Regions from separate parts of the Homo sapiens genome. Here all the other regions are linked to region 3. Evidence: promoter capture Hi-C in 16 types of primary human blood cells and fetal thymus (Javierre and others, 2016). All regions are on one chromosome and are shown on one strand. Each heading gives the region's core, a stretch centred on a gene start or on the middle of the fragment in contact. The rest is flanking DNA. Distances are from core to core; before and after follow the strand shown. Region 1 overlaps KMT2E-AS1 (KMT2E antisense RNA 1). Region 2 has its middle 27 kb from the start of LINC01004. Region 3 holds the start of DNAJC2 (DnaJ heat shock protein family (Hsp40) member C2). Region 4 overlaps LHFPL3 (LHFPL tetraspan subfamily member 3). Region 5 holds the start of LOC101927902 (a long non-coding RNA gene). Region 6 overlaps LHFPL3-AS2 (LHFPL3 antisense RNA 2).

The links. The method cuts DNA at HindIII sites, captures the fragments that hold promoters and counts their contacts. A CHiCAGO score of 5 or more calls a contact.
Region 1: a fragment that was not itself captured here is called in contact with the fragment with the promoter of DNAJC2 in region 3 in 8 of 17 cell types (non-activated CD4 T cells, total B cells, total CD8 T cells and 5 more); the score reaches 12.4 in non-activated CD4 T cells.
Region 2: a contact is called between a fragment that was not itself captured here and the fragment with the promoter of DNAJC2 in region 3, in 1 of 17 cell types (total B cells). The highest score is 5.5, in total B cells.
Region 4: a fragment that was not itself captured here is called in contact with the fragment with the promoter of DNAJC2 in region 3 in 1 of 17 cell types (activated CD4 T cells); the score reaches 5.2 in activated CD4 T cells.
Region 5: a fragment that was not itself captured here is called in contact with the fragment with the promoter of DNAJC2 in region 3 in 5 of 17 cell types (naive CD8 T cells, total CD4 T cells, naive B cells and 2 more); the score reaches 7.2 in naive CD8 T cells.
Region 6: a fragment that was not itself captured here is called in contact with the fragment with the promoter of DNAJC2 in region 3 in 1 of 17 cell types (total B cells); the score reaches 6.1 in total B cells.

What each region holds. Positions count from the first base shown.
Region 1 is chr7:105,008,649-105,011,389 of GRCh38, forward strand. KMT2E-AS1 (KMT2E antisense RNA 1) reads right to left here. Exons shown (of 1, transcript NR_024586.1): 1 at 1,894-2,741. Among named protein-coding and RNA genes, the nearest start is that of KMT2E-AS1, 4.1 kb to the right of the region's middle. The HindIII fragment of the contact is 974 bases long and covers 857-1,830 here.
Region 2 is chr7:104,962,720-104,965,428 of GRCh38, forward strand. No RefSeq gene overlaps it. Among named protein-coding and RNA genes, the nearest start is that of LINC01004, 27 kb to the right of the region's middle. The HindIII fragment of the contact is 1,477 bases long and covers 580-2,056 here.
Region 3 is chr7:103,343,480-103,346,411 of GRCh38, forward strand. DNAJC2 (DnaJ heat shock protein family (Hsp40) member C2) reads right to left here and starts at 1,288. Exons shown (of 17, transcript NM_014377.3): 1 at 1,080-1,288. The coding sequence starts at 1,143. It also overlaps a transcript of PMPCB not described here. RefSeq lists an enhancer at 1,231-1,470. The HindIII fragment of the contact is 5,590 bases long and covers 703-2,932 here.
Region 4 is chr7:104,890,146-104,892,994 of GRCh38, forward strand. All of the region lies in intron 2 of LHFPL3 (LHFPL tetraspan subfamily member 3), which reads left to right. Among named protein-coding and RNA genes, the nearest start is that of LHFPL3-AS2, 35 kb to the right of the region's middle. The HindIII fragment of the contact is 5,504 bases long and covers 1-2,849 here.
Region 5 is chr7:104,940,404-104,943,135 of GRCh38, forward strand. It overlaps LOC101927902 (a long non-coding RNA gene), which reads left to right and starts at 541. Exons shown (of 2, transcript NR_187679.1): 1 at 541-1,267. The HindIII fragment of the contact is 9,797 bases long and covers 1-2,732 here.
Region 6 is chr7:104,908,866-104,911,638 of GRCh38, forward strand. All of the region lies in intron 3 of LHFPL3-AS2 (LHFPL3 antisense RNA 2), which reads right to left. Among named protein-coding and RNA genes, the nearest start is that of LHFPL3-AS2, 16 kb to the right of the region's middle. RefSeq lists a silencer at 1,314-1,470. The HindIII fragment of the contact is 7,345 bases long and covers 1-2,773 here.

The DNA.
Region 1 (2,741 bases), core at 94-2,593, 1.7 Mb after region 3:
AGCTACTGGGGAGGGTGATGCAGGAGAATCACTTGAACCCAGGAGGTGGAGGCTGCCGTGAGCCGAGATCGTGCCACTGCACTCCAGCCTGGGCAACTGTGCAAGACTCTGTCTCAATTAAAAAAAAAAAAAAAAAAAAAAAGGCCAAGTCATCCTTCAGACAGTGTAAGTAGGGCAAAGATTATGAACTCTGGTGAGGTCAGGGAGACAGATGTTAAAGTTAATGCTCTGCCACCTTGGGTAAGATTATATATAAAGTATATACAACAGCATCCAACAGTTCGGTGTATTACGAGAGCATTCTCTTTTGTGGGGAGGGAAGTCACACTAGCAGTTAAGGATTTCTCGTCTGGCCTTAAGTCAAGACTTTCCAATAATTCCCCTGTTCTCTCATTAATGTCACTAATGACCTGATGTGGCATTACCTTGCTAATTAAAAAAACAAAAATCCCAAACTCTTGTTATTCCTAAATCCTTACTTCCAACTGTTATTCTTACATCAAACTATACATAAAGAAATGGAAGTAGCATTAAAACTGAGCTAAGTTTAGGATGGGCACGGTGGCTCACGCCTATAATCCCAGCACTTTGGGAGGCTGAGGCAGGCAGATCACCTGAGGTCAGGAGTTCAAGACCAGCCCGGCCAACATGGTGAAACCCTGTCTCTACTAAAAATACAAAAATTAGCTGGGCGTGGTGGTGTGCGCCTGTAGTTCCAGCTACTCACGGACTGAAGCAGGAGAATCGCTTGAACCCAGGAGCCGGAGGCTGCAGTGAGCTGAGAACGTACCACTGCACTCCAGCCTGAGTGACAGAGCAAAGCTCCTTCTCAAAACCAAAAAACAAAACTGAGCTAAGCTTAAACTGGTAGAATGAAGTCTGGGAGAAAATAAATTAGTAAGTAAACATTTACTTGCTAAACAACTGTAAGGGAAAAACCAGGATATAGTTTTAAATTTGAGACAAATATTAATCGATATACTTTGAGAGGGGCACTTAAGAAATACTCTTTTCAGGATAAGAAATATTAAGGCGATATATTCTCTAAGAATAAGTTTCTACATAATCTAATCTAGTTTAGGCTTAAGTTGTATGAAGTACCGTTTGTATTAGGTTGATAACCAATTTAGTTTATTAGGAATGGTACTATATACAAGATATTTGCTGACTGAAAGCACGTTTGATACCTCAAAAGACAACGCTGACAACGCCGCTTTTGCAGTGTGCTTACAAAGGAACAAAAAACAAAACAAACCCCAAAGGCCATTTCTTTTTCAAATAAGAAATACAAATGCAGGATAAACTTCAGTGCTTGCAGCAAAACTAGGCATTAAAGAAAAATGCTATAAAATATATTTCCTTAAAAATATCCAGCTCAGTTTTTTTCTTCTTCCCACCTTTTTGGGGCAGAACTATCTCTGGGCCATCAGCAGTCTTCTGCCTTGCCTGGAGCCTCCCTAACCTTTCATCTCTTATCCAAATTGTTTATCAAAAGAGCTCCTTTAAAAGAGTTTAAAAGCCAGTATTTACAGTTTATAGACTGCACAGTTAATCTTATCAATCTCTAAAAAACCATGTATACCTGAATGCCCATCAAGTGTCAAGCACTAGGCTGGGTTATCAACATAAAGAATGACACATTTACTTGCGAGTAGGGATTTTGCAGTTTCAAGAGGCAAAGAAAAGGTTCAAATTGTATTATCCAGAAGTGAGAAAGACGCACTCCAGGTAGCAGGACAAAAGCACAAAGGTATGAAATGGCATAGCACTTTTGAGATGGTGTGCATTTTAATTTTAACACACCAGAAGATATGCTATGTGAACCTAGTAAGCTTACCGCAACTGCAATGTTCCAAAGTTAAGAGACAATAATTTCAACAAAAACAAGGAAAAGGAGGTTGGGGTGTAATTTACTCAAATAATCTTTGTGAGGGGATGGGGGAAGAAAATTCTTAAAAAACAAGTACCAAGCTTAGTATTTTTATTGAGCTCAGAAAGCCTGTGGTCCCCAGTAAACTTTTACATTGCCTACCTGTGGCACTGAAGCTGGCAGAGCTAAGATGGAGGTGAAAATTGGAGAGGTATTGGAACATAATAGGCCCAAATGAAATTGCCCAGGCAGAATATATGAATGTATGAAGGCAGTCAAAGAAAAGTAATTCCAAGTATGAACAGTATTTAAAATGCCATAGGAAAGTCAAGAAAAATTGAGAGCTCAAGAAGTTCGTGGATTTGGCAATCAGGAACAATGAAGGTACACGCTGATTAAAGGCACAAAACAAGGAAAGGGTGTTTCCATTCGCTTGGAAAATGGCCTTTTTTCCTTATTAAGGCACGGTGAAAGTAGAAACATTCTGAAAATTACCTTAAAATCTACTGACTTCATATTTAGTTCCCTTTTTAAGCAGGAATAAAAACTGCTATGAAGGAAGGGGAGACATCTTACACGTAACAAAGTAACCCTTGAAGACATTCAAGAGTTCTTAATGCTTACTTTCTATTCAGAGTGGACAAATTACATTCTTTGTACTAAATATTTATAGCTCATCCACATTCAGTTGCTTATAACTGAAAAAAGAAATCCACAAAAACTAGTGAGGATTTAAGGATACACAAATGAATTAAAAACCCAATCTTGTTTTCAAACTACCAAGAGCCTACAACTAAGACTTAAGGAAATAGCACAACCTTGACCTCAGGTTCTTTTCAGGTCCAGCAATCATTTTCTCGTAGCACCAAGT
Region 2 (2,709 bases), core at 68-2,567, 1.6 Mb after region 3:
GCCCTCTCCTCCTGTCCCCACCACCTCTCTGTCTTATCACTTCCCTTCTATCTCCCCTCCTCCCTCAGCCTAGAGAATATTTTTCTAACTTAGGTAAGGAGCTTTGCTGTTATTCCTGATGTTTTCTCCTAAATCTTTTACCAGTTTGTTCTCTCCAGTTCACTAAGGATCTAGACCAGTGGTTTTCAATCTGCAGCCTACATCTGAGTCACCTGGAGGGCCTGTTAAAACACAGAACGTGGAGCCCAACCCCCAGAGGTGCTGATTCAGTAGGTCTGGGGTAGGGCCCAAGAATTTCCCTTTCTAACGAGTATCCAGGTGATGCTGATGTGGTCTGGAGACCATACTTTGAGAACCACCGGCCCAGGCTTTTGAAACTGAAAAACTTTGCTTTCTGCTTGTAAGACCCATCTCTTAGATAGGAGCAAAGAATGGTTTGTCTGTTCAAATGGGGAGATGGAATAGAAGAAAAAAAATCTAGAAGAAAAAAATCAAAATCAATGTTTTAAAAATAGTATTCTAGCATTCAGTAGTAATAATATAACCCCTTTGCTATGCCTTTAATATCTGGAAGAGAGAAGCTTGAGTACTTGCAAAATCTTGCCCCTGGATGGTGCAAAATAATGTCTCATTTTCCTCTTGAGTCTTTTGTCTTTGCCAAATCTATCTTAGAGGACAAAAAGGAGCAAGTCCTTCCTCCCTGCTTTCCTCTGTCTCCTCTTCTCTTTCCTCATGATGCTTCGGTCTCTTCTGTTATCCCTTGGCTCACCCCTCAGTCTTGATTTTTCTCACTCTGTGTTCCTAGCTGTCAGTCACGTGGACCTAATCCAGTGTTCTCCCAAGTAGAGGGGCTTAAGCTACTACTTTCAGGCTGTGCTGAGTGATATACATACAATGCCTCATTGACAATCCTGAAGGATGGTATTTTGCTTCTCATTTCACAGATGAGGAAACAGATGCTCAGAGAGATCACACTGCTAGGAATTGGTGAATCCAGAATTTGAGTCCAGTTTGTTTAGCTCCCAGTCCCAGGTCCTTCCCACATGTTCATGATCTTGTGTCCTTTTGCATCCCCAGCCCACAGGACAAAAACCTTGTCATGCTTGGGGTCAGGTTCTGGCCCCAGCTGAGGGCTGAGGGGAGTGGGTGGACACAGGGCAGGGAGCTGGAAGAACACCTGAGAGACAGCATGTAAGTGAGACATGGCTTTATTCAGCAGCCCCTTTACAGGGTCAGTGTTACATTTATACACTACACAGACAATAGTGGCTGAGAGCCAGGTGGTGAGCTTCTCTATGTTATGTCTACATGGCTATGATTGTATAAGACACGAGACTGCACTTGCGCCCCAATACTGCTGAGTCATTTAGGCTGTTTACCTTGACCTATGCCTGCTGCTCTATGCCTGCTTGGCTGCAGCACAGCCATGTTCCTTACAGACCTTCAGATGGAGATTTGCAATGAGTGCACTAAAAGAGACTCCATGTCAGATGCCAATCTCTGGGCCAAATCTTTGTGGGATACTTTACTCATAGTAGGAACTGCAGGACCACTACTTCCACTGGAGCATTTGTGTGTGTGTGTGTGTGTTTGTGTGTGTGTGTGTGCGTGTGTGTGTTTTCATGTGTGGGACATTCTTTTTGAAAATGAACATGGTGGGAAATTATGGTCTCACCCTCAAAATCCAACCAAATTCTCAGCAAACCCCAGATTGTGTAGGTTGTAGGAAAGAAGCATGTTAGTTTTGGCAGAAATACTCTTAGTCTGGCAGTAAATTTCTTAAAACATAAAAATGCTTTTTAACATCCTGTTTTTGTCCTCCTTTTGTTGATTTTTGAGCATTTCTTCCCAAGCAAGGAATTATGTAGCAAGATTTGAAAATTACCAAACTTTATTTTGTTAGTTTTCTTTGGTTCCTTTTCTATGTTTCTGTATACGTTATCTGCTTTAAACTTTAAACTCAAGGATTAAAGTGACTCTAAAGCACTTCGGAGTGATCCAGGAACCACATGGGGCTGGATAGCAGTTTCCTAGAGCAAAATGACAAGCCCTGAAAAGCTTACTGTAGGCCATCGAGTTCATACATGGCCCCCTGTCAGTGGGTAGATAAGCTGTGAACCTAGGAATATGGATGCCTGTGATAACTGGTCCTCACTCTTCTTCCTAGACAAAGTTTCAGATCTCTGTGTCTTTCTGGGCATCTTCGAAAACTTCCATTCCCCATTTGCCATGTAAGCCAGACTCATGTAGAAGTTAGGATTTGTAGACCCTGGAGGTAAACAGCTTCCTCCAGAACCTTGTTCTGCCTCTTAGTAGCTGTGTAATCTTGGGCAAGTTACTTAACCTCTCTAGGGCTCAGTTTCCTTACCTGTAAAATGGAAATAAAGCACATTCTTCCAGGCCAGGCATGGTGGCTCATGCCTGTAATCCCAGTGCTTTGGGAGGCCGAGAAGGGCAGATCATGAGCTCAGGAGTTCAAAACCAGCCTGGCCAACATGGTGAAACCTCGTCTCTAAAAAAAAGCAAAAATTAGCTGGGTGCAGTGGTGCACACCTGTAGTCCCAGCTATTCAGGAGGCTGAGGCATGAGAATTGCTTGAACCTGCTTGCAGTGAGCCGAGATCCCGCCACTGCACTCCAGCCTGGGCGACAGAGTGAGACTCCATCTCAAAAAAAAAAAAAAAAAAAAAGCACATACATTCTTCCTAGG
Region 3 (2,932 bases), core at 38-2,537:
AGGTCTGACAGTGGCTATGTGACCTGAAATGAATCAGGATGTCTTCACCTGTAAAATGGGAACAATACCTATTTATCTCATTCAGTTCCTAGGAAGCTTGAATGAGACCACAGAAACTCTCTGAAATTACAAACTTGTAGTAAAGGTATCATCTATTCCTGGGAAGTGGGGGTAAATCACTGTACATGTGTATACTAGCAATTCAAAAAAGGAAAATCCCTGAACAACTTATTTTAAGATTTCCTCCACCTTACACAGGAGAGGATTAAAACACTGTCAAAAAGGTACTACCTGTGTAGTATGGGTGTGTGGCTTTTAAGAACACTGCCTTTTAAGCCTTTTGCTCTAGTTGTAAGAGGCACACGGAGACACATAAATGCAACACGTGCCATGGGTTATGTTCAAAATCACATTCAACAAGCGCCTATGTGACTGGCTATGGGAATTACTGTAGATCACTGGACCTGAAGACTCTTAAGTTTACAATACTCATGACTGTCCTGGGCCATAAAACTAAAACCTACAGCAGCAGGACAAGTTTCACTTGTAATAACTGCCTTTCAAAGTCTACGCGGATCTTTTCAGCAGCACAGTCTTTGAACACCGAGTATGAGGAGCGGTGTCTGAGTTGTGACATTTAAAAAACAAGGCCGGAGCAAACGTAGAGAGGGAGAAAGTTGTTTAAGAGAGCGCCAGTAGCAAAGCTTTGTACGACCCCAGGCACGTGGGGTGCTCGCTGCGCGTAGTCTTTCCACCGTAGGCAAGGAGATGCTTATGAGAACCTTTCTGGGGTGCTGGGGGGTTCCGTCCCGAAATGCTCAGCCCAATCCATGAGTCAGCAGCGGCGAGAGGAGGAAGCAACGGTAGGAGCAAAAGGAAGGCACCCCTCACCCTCCTTCCTTCTAATCTAGGGTAGGATTACTTTAAAACACGGAGCAAAAAGGCACTCGTCACGGCCCCATACGGCCCCGGGGCTAGTCGCCAGGGTCAAGGGTAGAGAGAGCCCAGGGTTGCCGAGGCGGAGGACTGAGGCAGGGGCAGCTGAGGTGAGAAGGAACCGAGGTTGGGTGGGCACTTACCAGAGGTCAGAGCGTGGGTGATGGCGGTGCCCCGGCCGTCCGCGGCGCTTGGCAGAAGCAGCATGATGGCGCCGGGTCTAGCCCGGTGGGCGCAGCGGCTCACGTCCCGGGCGGAGGGCGCTTAGGGTCCCCTCCAGCTCTACCTCTCACTCCGAGCCTCGCGCCTTGGCTCTAAGACGCCCAGGAACCGGCGCATGGAGACGACCAGTAAGCACTTCCGGGATGGATCTTTCGTGGTGTGGAGGCCAGTCTCACACCCTCCCACCCCCGCCAACGTGTGCGGTAACCTAGTTCTATACTGACTGAGATCCGGCTGGAGACCAAGTCGCACGAGAGAATGGTTCCTAGGCGCATCAGTTTTCCTGTAAAAAGGATTATATTCCACGTCCCAGTGCAATACATAGAACATAACCTTTAAAAGCAGTTCTTTTTATATTATCTTTAAGTTCTTACTGCTTTATGTATTAATCTGAACCTAATCAGTGATTTTCCCAGGAGCGCTATACTTTTAAGTAAAAAATGAAAATACCTGTATGAACCAGTATCGACGACTAGTATATACATTTGCGGAGAATTACGTACGTGTATTTGTGATACATTTGTGTTTAACTTGATGATGATAATAGCAGCTAATATTTGTCGTGCTATTACTAATTTACCTGCATTATATCTTTTAATACTCGCTTGGAGAAGAAACCTCTCTCTAGTGTGTTAGATTGTATTCCAAGGCCAGCAATATTTTTACCTTGTTCTAATGAAGTTTTTATTCAAGATATTCCCAATTATAGGACTCTGGGACTTAATTTTTTAATGTATAATAAAATCAATTGTATTCCTACTATATGCTTCCTTCTAAGACTGCAGTCAAAAGCAAAAACTAGCAAAAACAAACAGTGGGTAAAGGCTCACCCCCAACAGCAGTATCTGAAACAGGTTCAATAAAATAAACTTGATATGCCACTCTTTAGCAAGGACCACCAGAAATTAGTAAATTAGAAAATAACTTACTAATTTCATTATATTTTCACAATTAAAGTTTTTAAATATATTATATATATATATATGTATATTTTTTTTTGTAGAGACAGGGTCTCACTATGTTGCCCAAGGTGGTCTTGAACTCCTGGCCTCAAGGGATCCTCCTGCCTCAGTCTCCCAAAACTCTGGGATTAGAGGCGTGAGTCACTGTGCCAGGCCAATTAAATACATTTAATTGGTCTGTATATCTGCTGCATGATAAAATTGTCACTTCAAAACTGACTTTTCAAAAATTGAACTAAGGGAGGCTGAGGTGGGAAGATCGTTGAGGCCGGGAGGTGGAGGTTGCAGTGAGCTGAGATCACACCATTGCGCTCCAGCCTGGGTAACAGTGAGACCCCGTCTTTAAAAAAAAAAAAATTGAACTAATCTTCTGCCCCAAAACCTCTTCCTGATCCCTACTAATGCAACCACTGTTAAAACATGCTCCAAGGTGCAAAGTAACCTGACTCCACTTTCTTCATATTAATATATTTTTTTCCTCACACCTCCTCCCATTCAATTTTACCATTAACTCTAACATGGGTTTTTGTTTTTTTGTTGTTTTCTTTTCTGAGACAGAGGCTTGCTCTGTCGCCCAGGCTGGAGTGCAGTGGCCTGATTTCGGCTCACTGCAATCTCTGCCTCCCAGGTTCAAGCGATTCTCCTGCCTCAGCCTCCCGAGTAGCTGGGATTACAGGTGCGTGCCACCACGCCCAGCTAATTTCTGTATTTGTAGTAGAGACGGGGTTTAGCCATGTTGGCCAGGCTGGTCTCCAACTCCTGACCTCATGATCTGCCTGCTTCAGCCTCCCAAAGTGCTGGAATTACAGGGG
Region 4 (2,849 bases), core at 264-2,763, 1.5 Mb after region 3:
AATAACAAATTAGCCAGGCTTCATGGCACTCACTTATAGTCTAGCTACTCAAGAGCCTGAGTTGGGAGGGTCCCTTGAGCCCAGGATTTTAAGGCTGCAGTGAACTATGATTGTGCCACTTCACTCACCTGGTCAACAAAGTGAAATCCTGTCTCTAAAAAAACAAGTGGTTGGGAGATTCTCCTGCTCTATACCTGCAGAGCAGACAGGAGGCCTTACTGGTCCTGTGCATCTTAATCTTTGCTCCATCCCCTTCCTCCCCCGCATTACAACGCCCCGTGGAGCTCAGGGGAAAATACCCAGTTGCTGCCTTGAGCAGTAGACTTGCCTCAGAGCTCCTAGCTTACTGTTTACATGCAGGGTCTGGAACTAAGCAGCTAAATTGGCTGTGTGTTTGTCCCTTTAGAACTGATTGTCAGTCCTTCCCCCTCAGTCCGTTCAGTGGATTCTGAACACTGGCCGGGTGAAGGTCTCATTGCCCAGAGCTGAGATCAACCGCTAACAAGAAGAAAACTATTTCAGGCCAGAGGCCATGGGAGAAATGGCGGGGAAGCCAGGCTCTTCTGTGGATGACACGCCAGGCTCAGGTGGCCAGTGAGGACCATCTTTGTGATTTGTTCATTCATTTTTTTACCTGAAATGGAGACTGATGTGGCTCCCGGGAGGGGGCTATGAAGAGGACAAGGCCTGTGAGGTGCTGCCAATACTTTCTTGCCTCACAGGCTGATGAGAATAGACAGAACCACAGCACCATGAAGCCCACCAGCAGCGCCCCAGCTCCCCAGCCTCGTGCCTGCAACAGAGTAGGTGGTCACTGAAGGTTTCATTTCTTTTTAATCTCCCATAGTAGAGAATTTCTGTTTCTACCATTATGACACAACTGTTGCAGCTATGAGGACAAATCTTTTGAGCCTTTCTGCAGATCTGGGTGCCTTACCCCCAACTTTCATATCAGAGACATCTAGTTGCCAAATTAAGGGTCTGTTTTGAATGGTTTCTTACTCTGTTTTGTGTTGCTATAACAGAATACCATAAAAAAAAAATTTGTTTTGTTTGAATTCTCTTTTTCAGGCAGCCCCCACAATCACAGCAGATTCAGAGAGACTCCCATAAATGTATTTCTTACAGTTCTGGAAGCTGGGAAGTCCAAGGCTGAGGGGCTGCTTCTGGTGAGGGCCTTCTGGCTGCATCATAACATGGCGGAAGGGCAAGCAGGCGTGCGAGACTGGAAAGCAGGCTGAATATCATCCCTTTATCATGTGTGAGACAGGAAATCAGGCCAAATTTCATCCCTTTATTGGGACCCCACTCCCAGTGACAACAGCATTAATCCATCATGACCCCTCATGACCTAAGCACCTTTTAAAGGTCCCACTGTTAATACTATTACAATGGCAATTAGATTTCAACATGAGTTTCAGAGGGGACATTCAAACCACAGTAGTCCCTGAATTGGCATTCTCTTGTGTTGGCCAAGAGCCATTCTCTGAATCACAAATAAAATGAACGCCTGGGCAGAGGTTGGGAAGCCTTTCTAAGAACCAGAAATCTGTTCTATCTGTGGAAGAAGAATGTCCTATTATAGTGAGCAAGAGATGGACAAAGCAGAAATGATATGTGCTGCTAGGAGCATTATTTGGCTCTCCTGTCTGTGACAGCCACCAAAGGCAACAAGAATAATGAAAAGAGATATGGTGTAGACAGGCTGACAGAAATGTCTGGAGGGAGCTCTTAGAGTGACTTAAACAGCCCCAACCTTGTTCTAGGATCTCACTAGACTCAGTGAATCACTTTGAACACAAATTAATCCAGCTACCAGGAATCTAAGAAAAAGAAATTGAAAGTTATTATTTTCTATTGTTATGACTTCTCATCCTTATGAAAGTGTTCTTCTTTTGCAACACTTTGCATATTGATCACAGATTTTCTTCTCAATGCTCATTCACTTATTCAACAAGAATGCATTGGGTGATACATTGAGGAATGCATTGAATGTATGTGAAGGTGCTAAAAGGAATGTTTAGAATAGCTATCCTTTTGGTGTGCTGAGAGTCTTCAGAGCATCTCCTAATCACTCTCTTAGAGAAGCAAATACAAACCCACAATAACATGGAAGATGGTAGAATGTTTAGCTTTTTATTTCCAAGGAATTTAATTTTCAAAATAATAGTGGCACATTTTTCCCAGTTATAAAAATGATGTGTGTTCAGCTCACTGTAAAAATAAAAACAGAAAAAGAAAAATCAGACAATTTTTCTTTTTCAGAGTCAAAAAACATCCTAAATCGTAGGGCATGGTGGCTCACACCTGTAATCCTAGCACTTTGGGAAACTGAGGCAGGCGGATCACAAGGTCAGCCGTTCAAAACCAGCCTGGCCAACATAGAGAAACCCCGTCTCTACTAAAAATACAAAAATTAGCCAGGTGTGGTGGCGGGCACCTGTAATCCCAGCTATTCCAGAGGCTGAGGCAAGAGAATCACCTGAACCCGGGAGGCAGAGGTTGCAGTGAGCTGAGACCACGCCACTGCACTCCAGCCTGGGTGACAGAGTGAGACTGTCTCAAAAAAAAAAAAAAAAAAAAAAAATCCTAAATCTACCATTCAGAGCTCAACTAACATTATGGGGTAGATCCTTCCATATTTTTTCTATGTACATATAAACATATTTGATTTTCAAAAATGAGATTCCATTAATCATGCTACTTCATATCCTGCTTTATTCTTTTATTATGGTATGTATGTTATTCATTTATTATAGAGCTATACAATCATTTTAAATGGCTGTATAGGCTGGGCACAGTGGCTCATGCTTGTAATCCCACGCTGAAGCAGGAGGATTGCTTGAGGC
Region 5 (2,732 bases), core at 130-2,629, 1.6 Mb after region 3:
GGGACCCGCAGCCCACCATGCCTGAGACTCCCCCACCCTCCGTGGGCTCCTGGGGGGCCCAAGCCTCCCCGACGAGTGCCGCCACCTGCTCCACGGTGCCCAGTCCCATAGACCACCCAAGGGCTGAGGAGTGCGGGCGCACGGTGTGGGACTGGCAAGCAGCTCCACCTGAAGCCCCCGTGCAGAATCCACTGCGTGAAGCCAGCTGGGCTCCTGACTGGTGGGGACTTGGAGAAACTTTTTGTCTAGCTAAGGGATTGTAAATACACCAATCGGCACTCTGTACTAGCTCAAGATTTGTAAACACACCAATCAGCACCCTGTGTCTAGCTCAGGGTTTGTGAATGCACCAATCAACACTCTGTATCTAGCTAATCTGGTGGGGACGTGGAGAACCTTTGTGTCTAGCTCAGGGATTGTAAACGCACCATTCAGCACCCTGTCAAAACAGACCACTCCTCTCTCTGTAAAATGGACCAATCAGCAGGATGTGGGTGGGGCCAGATAATAGAATAAAAGCAGGCTGCCCCAGCTGGCAGTGGCAATCCTCTCCGGTCCCCTTCCGGGCTGTGGGAGCTTTGTTCTTTTGCTCTTTGCAATAAATCTTGCTGCTGCTCGCTCTTTGGGTCCACATTGCCTTTGTGAGCTGTAACACTCACGGCGAAGGTCTGCAGCTTCACTCCTAAAGCCAGAGAGACCACAAACCCACCGGGAGGAACGAACAACTCCAGACGCGCGGCCTTAAGAGCTGTAACACTCACCGCGAAAGTCTGCAGCTTCACTCCTAAAGCCAGCGAGACCACGAACCCACCAGGAGGAACGAACAATTCCAGATGCGCCGCCTTAGGAGCTGTAACACTCACCGCGAAGATCTGCAGCTTCACTCCTGAGCCGGCGAGACCACGAACCCCACCAGAAGGAAGAAACTCCGGACACGCCGCCTTTAAGAACTATAACACTCACGGCGAGGGTCCACGGCTTCATTCTTGAAGTCAGTGAAACCAAGAACCCACCAATTCCGGACACAGCAGGATCCCACCCACAGAACCGCCAGGTGCACAGCTGCATATCCTCAGGGGAAAACTCCCCTCCCCTGCCACCTTACTGATAGGCTTCACTTCCCAGAGAACTTTCCCAATCCTGTGCAATGCCTGAGTGGTACATTGTATTCTATGAGAATGGCGCCCCCGCCTCCAGAGTTGTGCAACAAGACTTCCATGAATCAAAGCCCATCGCTGGCTGCCTCCTCTAGCCCTGCATAGCCCAGGTACATCTGAAAGGAGTGAGAAGTGTTTTGAGGGCTCTCCCTGTCTCTTCCTGCACCTCTCTCTTGTGATCCCAGGTAGGCACCTGCTCTGAATCTTGCTCTTCCTCAGTTGCAGTCCCGGGTGGAAGCAGATCAGAATCGAATGAGTGGCCCCTCTGCCATCCTGCCCTGGCCTCCACCTTGCCACTCTCATTAGACTGGGCATTCCTGGTATGTGGTGCTCAATGCTTGTTGAATGAATGAATAAGTAAGACTCTGCTAAGATCTCTGCCAATAATAACCACAGAGATAGTTATATTATTTTAATGGAAGTTTCTTTAAAACCAAGACAATTACAAGAGCCAAAGGATTGACAACTCTACTGATGGCATGTCTAGAAGAGACCCTTAGAGAAAGGAACCTTTCCAATCCTTTTTAGATGATACCAAGCAGGCAACCGCCTCCCCCAGACGCTTGCCCCAGTCTCCTATGGAAGGTTCGGGTAGCCTGGACTGCAGCTCTTCTAGGCAGCTTTCCAGTTGTATTCCCTGGCATAATTGTAACTTCAACACCTAGGTCTTAAGAAACATGTGTCCAGGCACAGTGGCTCATGCCTGTAATCCCAACCCTTTGGGAGGCCAAGGTAGGAGGATCGCTTAAGGCCAAGAATTTGAGACGAGCCCAGGGAACATAGTGAGACCCCATCTCTATAAAAAATTAGAGGCCAGGCACGGTGGCTCATGCCTGTAATCCCACCACTTTGAGAGGCCGAGGGGGGCAGGTCACCTGAGGTCAGGAGTTCCAGACCAGCGTGACCAACATGGAGAAACCCCATCTCTACTAAAAATACAAAATTAGCCTGGTGTGGTGGCGCATGCCTGTAATCCCAGCTACTTGGGAGGCTGAGGCAGGAGAATCACTTGAACCCAGGAGGTGGAGGTTGCAGCGAGCCGAGACCGTGCCACTGCACTCCAGCCTGAGTGACAGAGTGAGAGTCCATCAAAAAAAAAAAATTAGAAAATTAGCTGGTGGTTTGCGTCTGTAGTCCCAGCTACTTAGAAGGCTGAGGCAGCAGGATTGCTTGAAGTAATGCAGCAAGCTATGACTGTCCCACTGCACTACAGCCTGGGCAACAGAGTGATACACTGTCTCTAAAAAAGAAAGACAAAAAAGCAACATGGCCTGGGTTATCTGGGCAACACATTCCACACATCTTGGAGGACCCTCACCTCCTGATAATCAAAATGAGCATTTCCATGTTTCATATTTCTGAGTGCCTGTCAACAGCACACCATTTCACAGCAGAGCAGGGACTAGAGTGAGGCATAGGAGGCACTCAACATGGGTGCAAAATTCAATTTTTTTTTTTTAGATGGAGTCTCGCTCTGTCACCCAGGCTGGAGTGCAGTGGAGCGATCTCGGCTCACTGCAACCTCTGCCTCTCAGGTTCAAGCTGATTCTCCTGCCTCAGCCTCCCGACTAGCTG
Region 6 (2,773 bases), core at 160-2,659, 1.6 Mb after region 3:
CCCCTTTGCAAATTGAAAACAACCAACCATTCCTCGCACATGAGCAACCCTTCATACTGGGTATATGAAGCAACAACACTTCATACTGGGTATATGTTGTCTGAGTGGGTTCCAATCCCTGATCCTTGGTTTACTATATGACTCTGAACAACTCTAAGCCTCAGTGTCCTCACTGGTAAAATAGATATAAATAATATTACTCAGCTCCATAGCATTGTTGTAAGGATATAAATTAAACTATACTGTTGTTGTGTTTGACAGGTAGGGGATATTCAGTGAATGTTCATTCCTTCCCCTCCTACTATATGCAAGACACTGAAGGAAGAAAAGAAACATAAAAAAAAGTCTCTGCTCTGAAGATCCTGAAGACAATTAGAGTGACATTTATAAGCAGGGATTGAAAATTCAAATGCGTACAAGGGCCAATAAATTCACAAAGCAAGCTCAGCTGGGGACATAATAGGGCGTAGTAGGAACTGGCCTGGCACAGTGGCCTCTAATCCCAGTACTTTGGGAGGCTGAGGCAGATGGATCACTTGAGTCCAGGAGTATGTGACCAGCCTAGGCAATATAGTGAGATCCCTTCTCTGAAAATAAAAAAAAAAAACAACAATAATTTTTTAAATAAAATAAAATAAATTTTTAAAAGGAAGTAGTGGGAACTGTGGAGCACTGAAGAGCCTAGGTCCCGTCTAAAGGGAATAAGTAGTCAACGCTCAGCTCTAATGATTCAAGAAATATGTATTGAGTTCCTACTATGTGCCAAGAACTGTTCTAAACTCTGAGAATATAGTGGTGAATCACACAAAACCCTGCTTTCCTTTCATAGGTCTTATGTTCTAGTAGGGGAAGACAGACAATAGACTGGAAAATGTCAGCTAATAATAGATGCCCTAAAGAGAATTAAAACAGGGTGATTGACAGAGAAATGGAGAGAGGAGTCAGGTAAGGCCTCCATGAAAAGGTGGCATTTAGAGTGAGACCTGAACAAACGTTTAAAAGCCACGTGTGAAAAAAGCAGAAGGCATGCCAGACCAGGAACGGCAAGGTGGCAGAGTGGGGAGCCACGTGGGCTAAGCTAGGACCCAGCTCTGGGCTTTGTAGGCCAGGATAGTTTGTACATTTTAAGTGTGAGAAAAAGCCACTGGAGGATCTTAAGCAGAAGAGTGATATAAACTATTTCACATTTCTAAAAGATTACTTTTGGTTTCGGCATCTAGCAGTATAAACTAGATACTCTAAAAAGCCTTTCTTTTTTTTTTTTTTTTTTTTTTTTTTTTAAGACGGAGTCTGGCTCTGTCACCCAGGTTGGAGTGCAGTGGGGCGATCTTGGCTAACTGCAACCTCCGCACCACCATGCCCAGCTAATTTTTGTATTTTTAGTAGAGACGGGGTTTCACCATGTTGGCCAGGCTAGTCTTGAACTCCTGACCTCATTATCCACCCACCTTGGCCTCCCATAGTGCTGGGATTACAGGCGTGAGCCATTGAGCCCAGCCTCTAAAAAGCCTTTCTTATGCCATACTATTAAATCTTAGATAAATTACAATAAGTTTATTTTTAACACACAGCTTAGATTATAAGAAAATAAGGGAAATTCCAAAAACATTTCAAAAAAGAAGTGGAGTGAGCTGAAAACTAAGTGTGAAATGTAAGCAAAGGCAAAAACTGGGCTTGCCTGAAGGTAAATCTGTATAACAAAGTAGGGAATGGAAGATTAAGCGTTGGGCCACTGGAAGCAGGTGAGTTAAATTTGACATTCACATCCAAAAGCAGGATGCTTGAAGATGGCTACATCCTAGGCAAGAGTGGTCTAGGAAAAATCCTCATGCTAGCGAAAGAAATCTATCAAGAACACCATCTCCACACTGGCTCTAGATGGAAAAAAAAAATAATAATGACCCCTTGAAATTTATCATATGCCTGCCCCCGTCAAGTATGGAATTCAGTCTTACACTCTCCATATGATCAAAGAAACCCCAACCAAGAAATTAAAGAGCTTTTTAGGGCCCCTTGTACCAGGCAGATACAAGCATTTGTTGTCTAGAGGAAAGCATCTCTCGCATAGCTCTCACCAATTAAGCTCAACAAAGTATGCAATTGCAATTTTAAAATTACTAAATATGGCTGGGCGCGGTGGCTCACGCCTATAATCCCAGCACTTTGGGAGGCCGAGGCAGGCGGATCACGAGGTCAGGAGATCGAGACCATCCTGGCGAACACGGTGAAACCCCGTCTCTACTAAAAATACAAAAAGAAAAAAATTAGCCGGGCGTGGTGGCGGGTGCCTGTAGTCCCAGCTACTCGGGAGGCTGAGGCAGGAGAATGGCGTGAACCCGGGGGGCGGAGCTTGCAGTGAGCCGAGATCGCGCCACTGCACTCCGGCCTGGGAGACAGCGAGACTCCGTCTCAAAAATAAAAATAAAAATTACTAAATATACAAATAAACTGTAAGCGATAATCAGCAGATATAACTAACAGCCGACTTATCACCCTACAGATTTTAGATAGTGGAATTACCAGATACACAATATAAAATAATCATGTTTTACATGTTAAGGAAATAAAGACAGCGTCTAAAACAATGAATACAATAAAGAGTACATTACATATAATCAGATAGATTAGAAGGAAATTTTTTAAGTCTTAGAAATTAAAACTATAATCACTGAAATTTAAAGTACAATGTGTAAATTACAAACAGGTATAACTGAAGAGAGGAGCTGTGAACTAGTAGACAGATCTAAAGAAATTACACAGAATACAATACAAA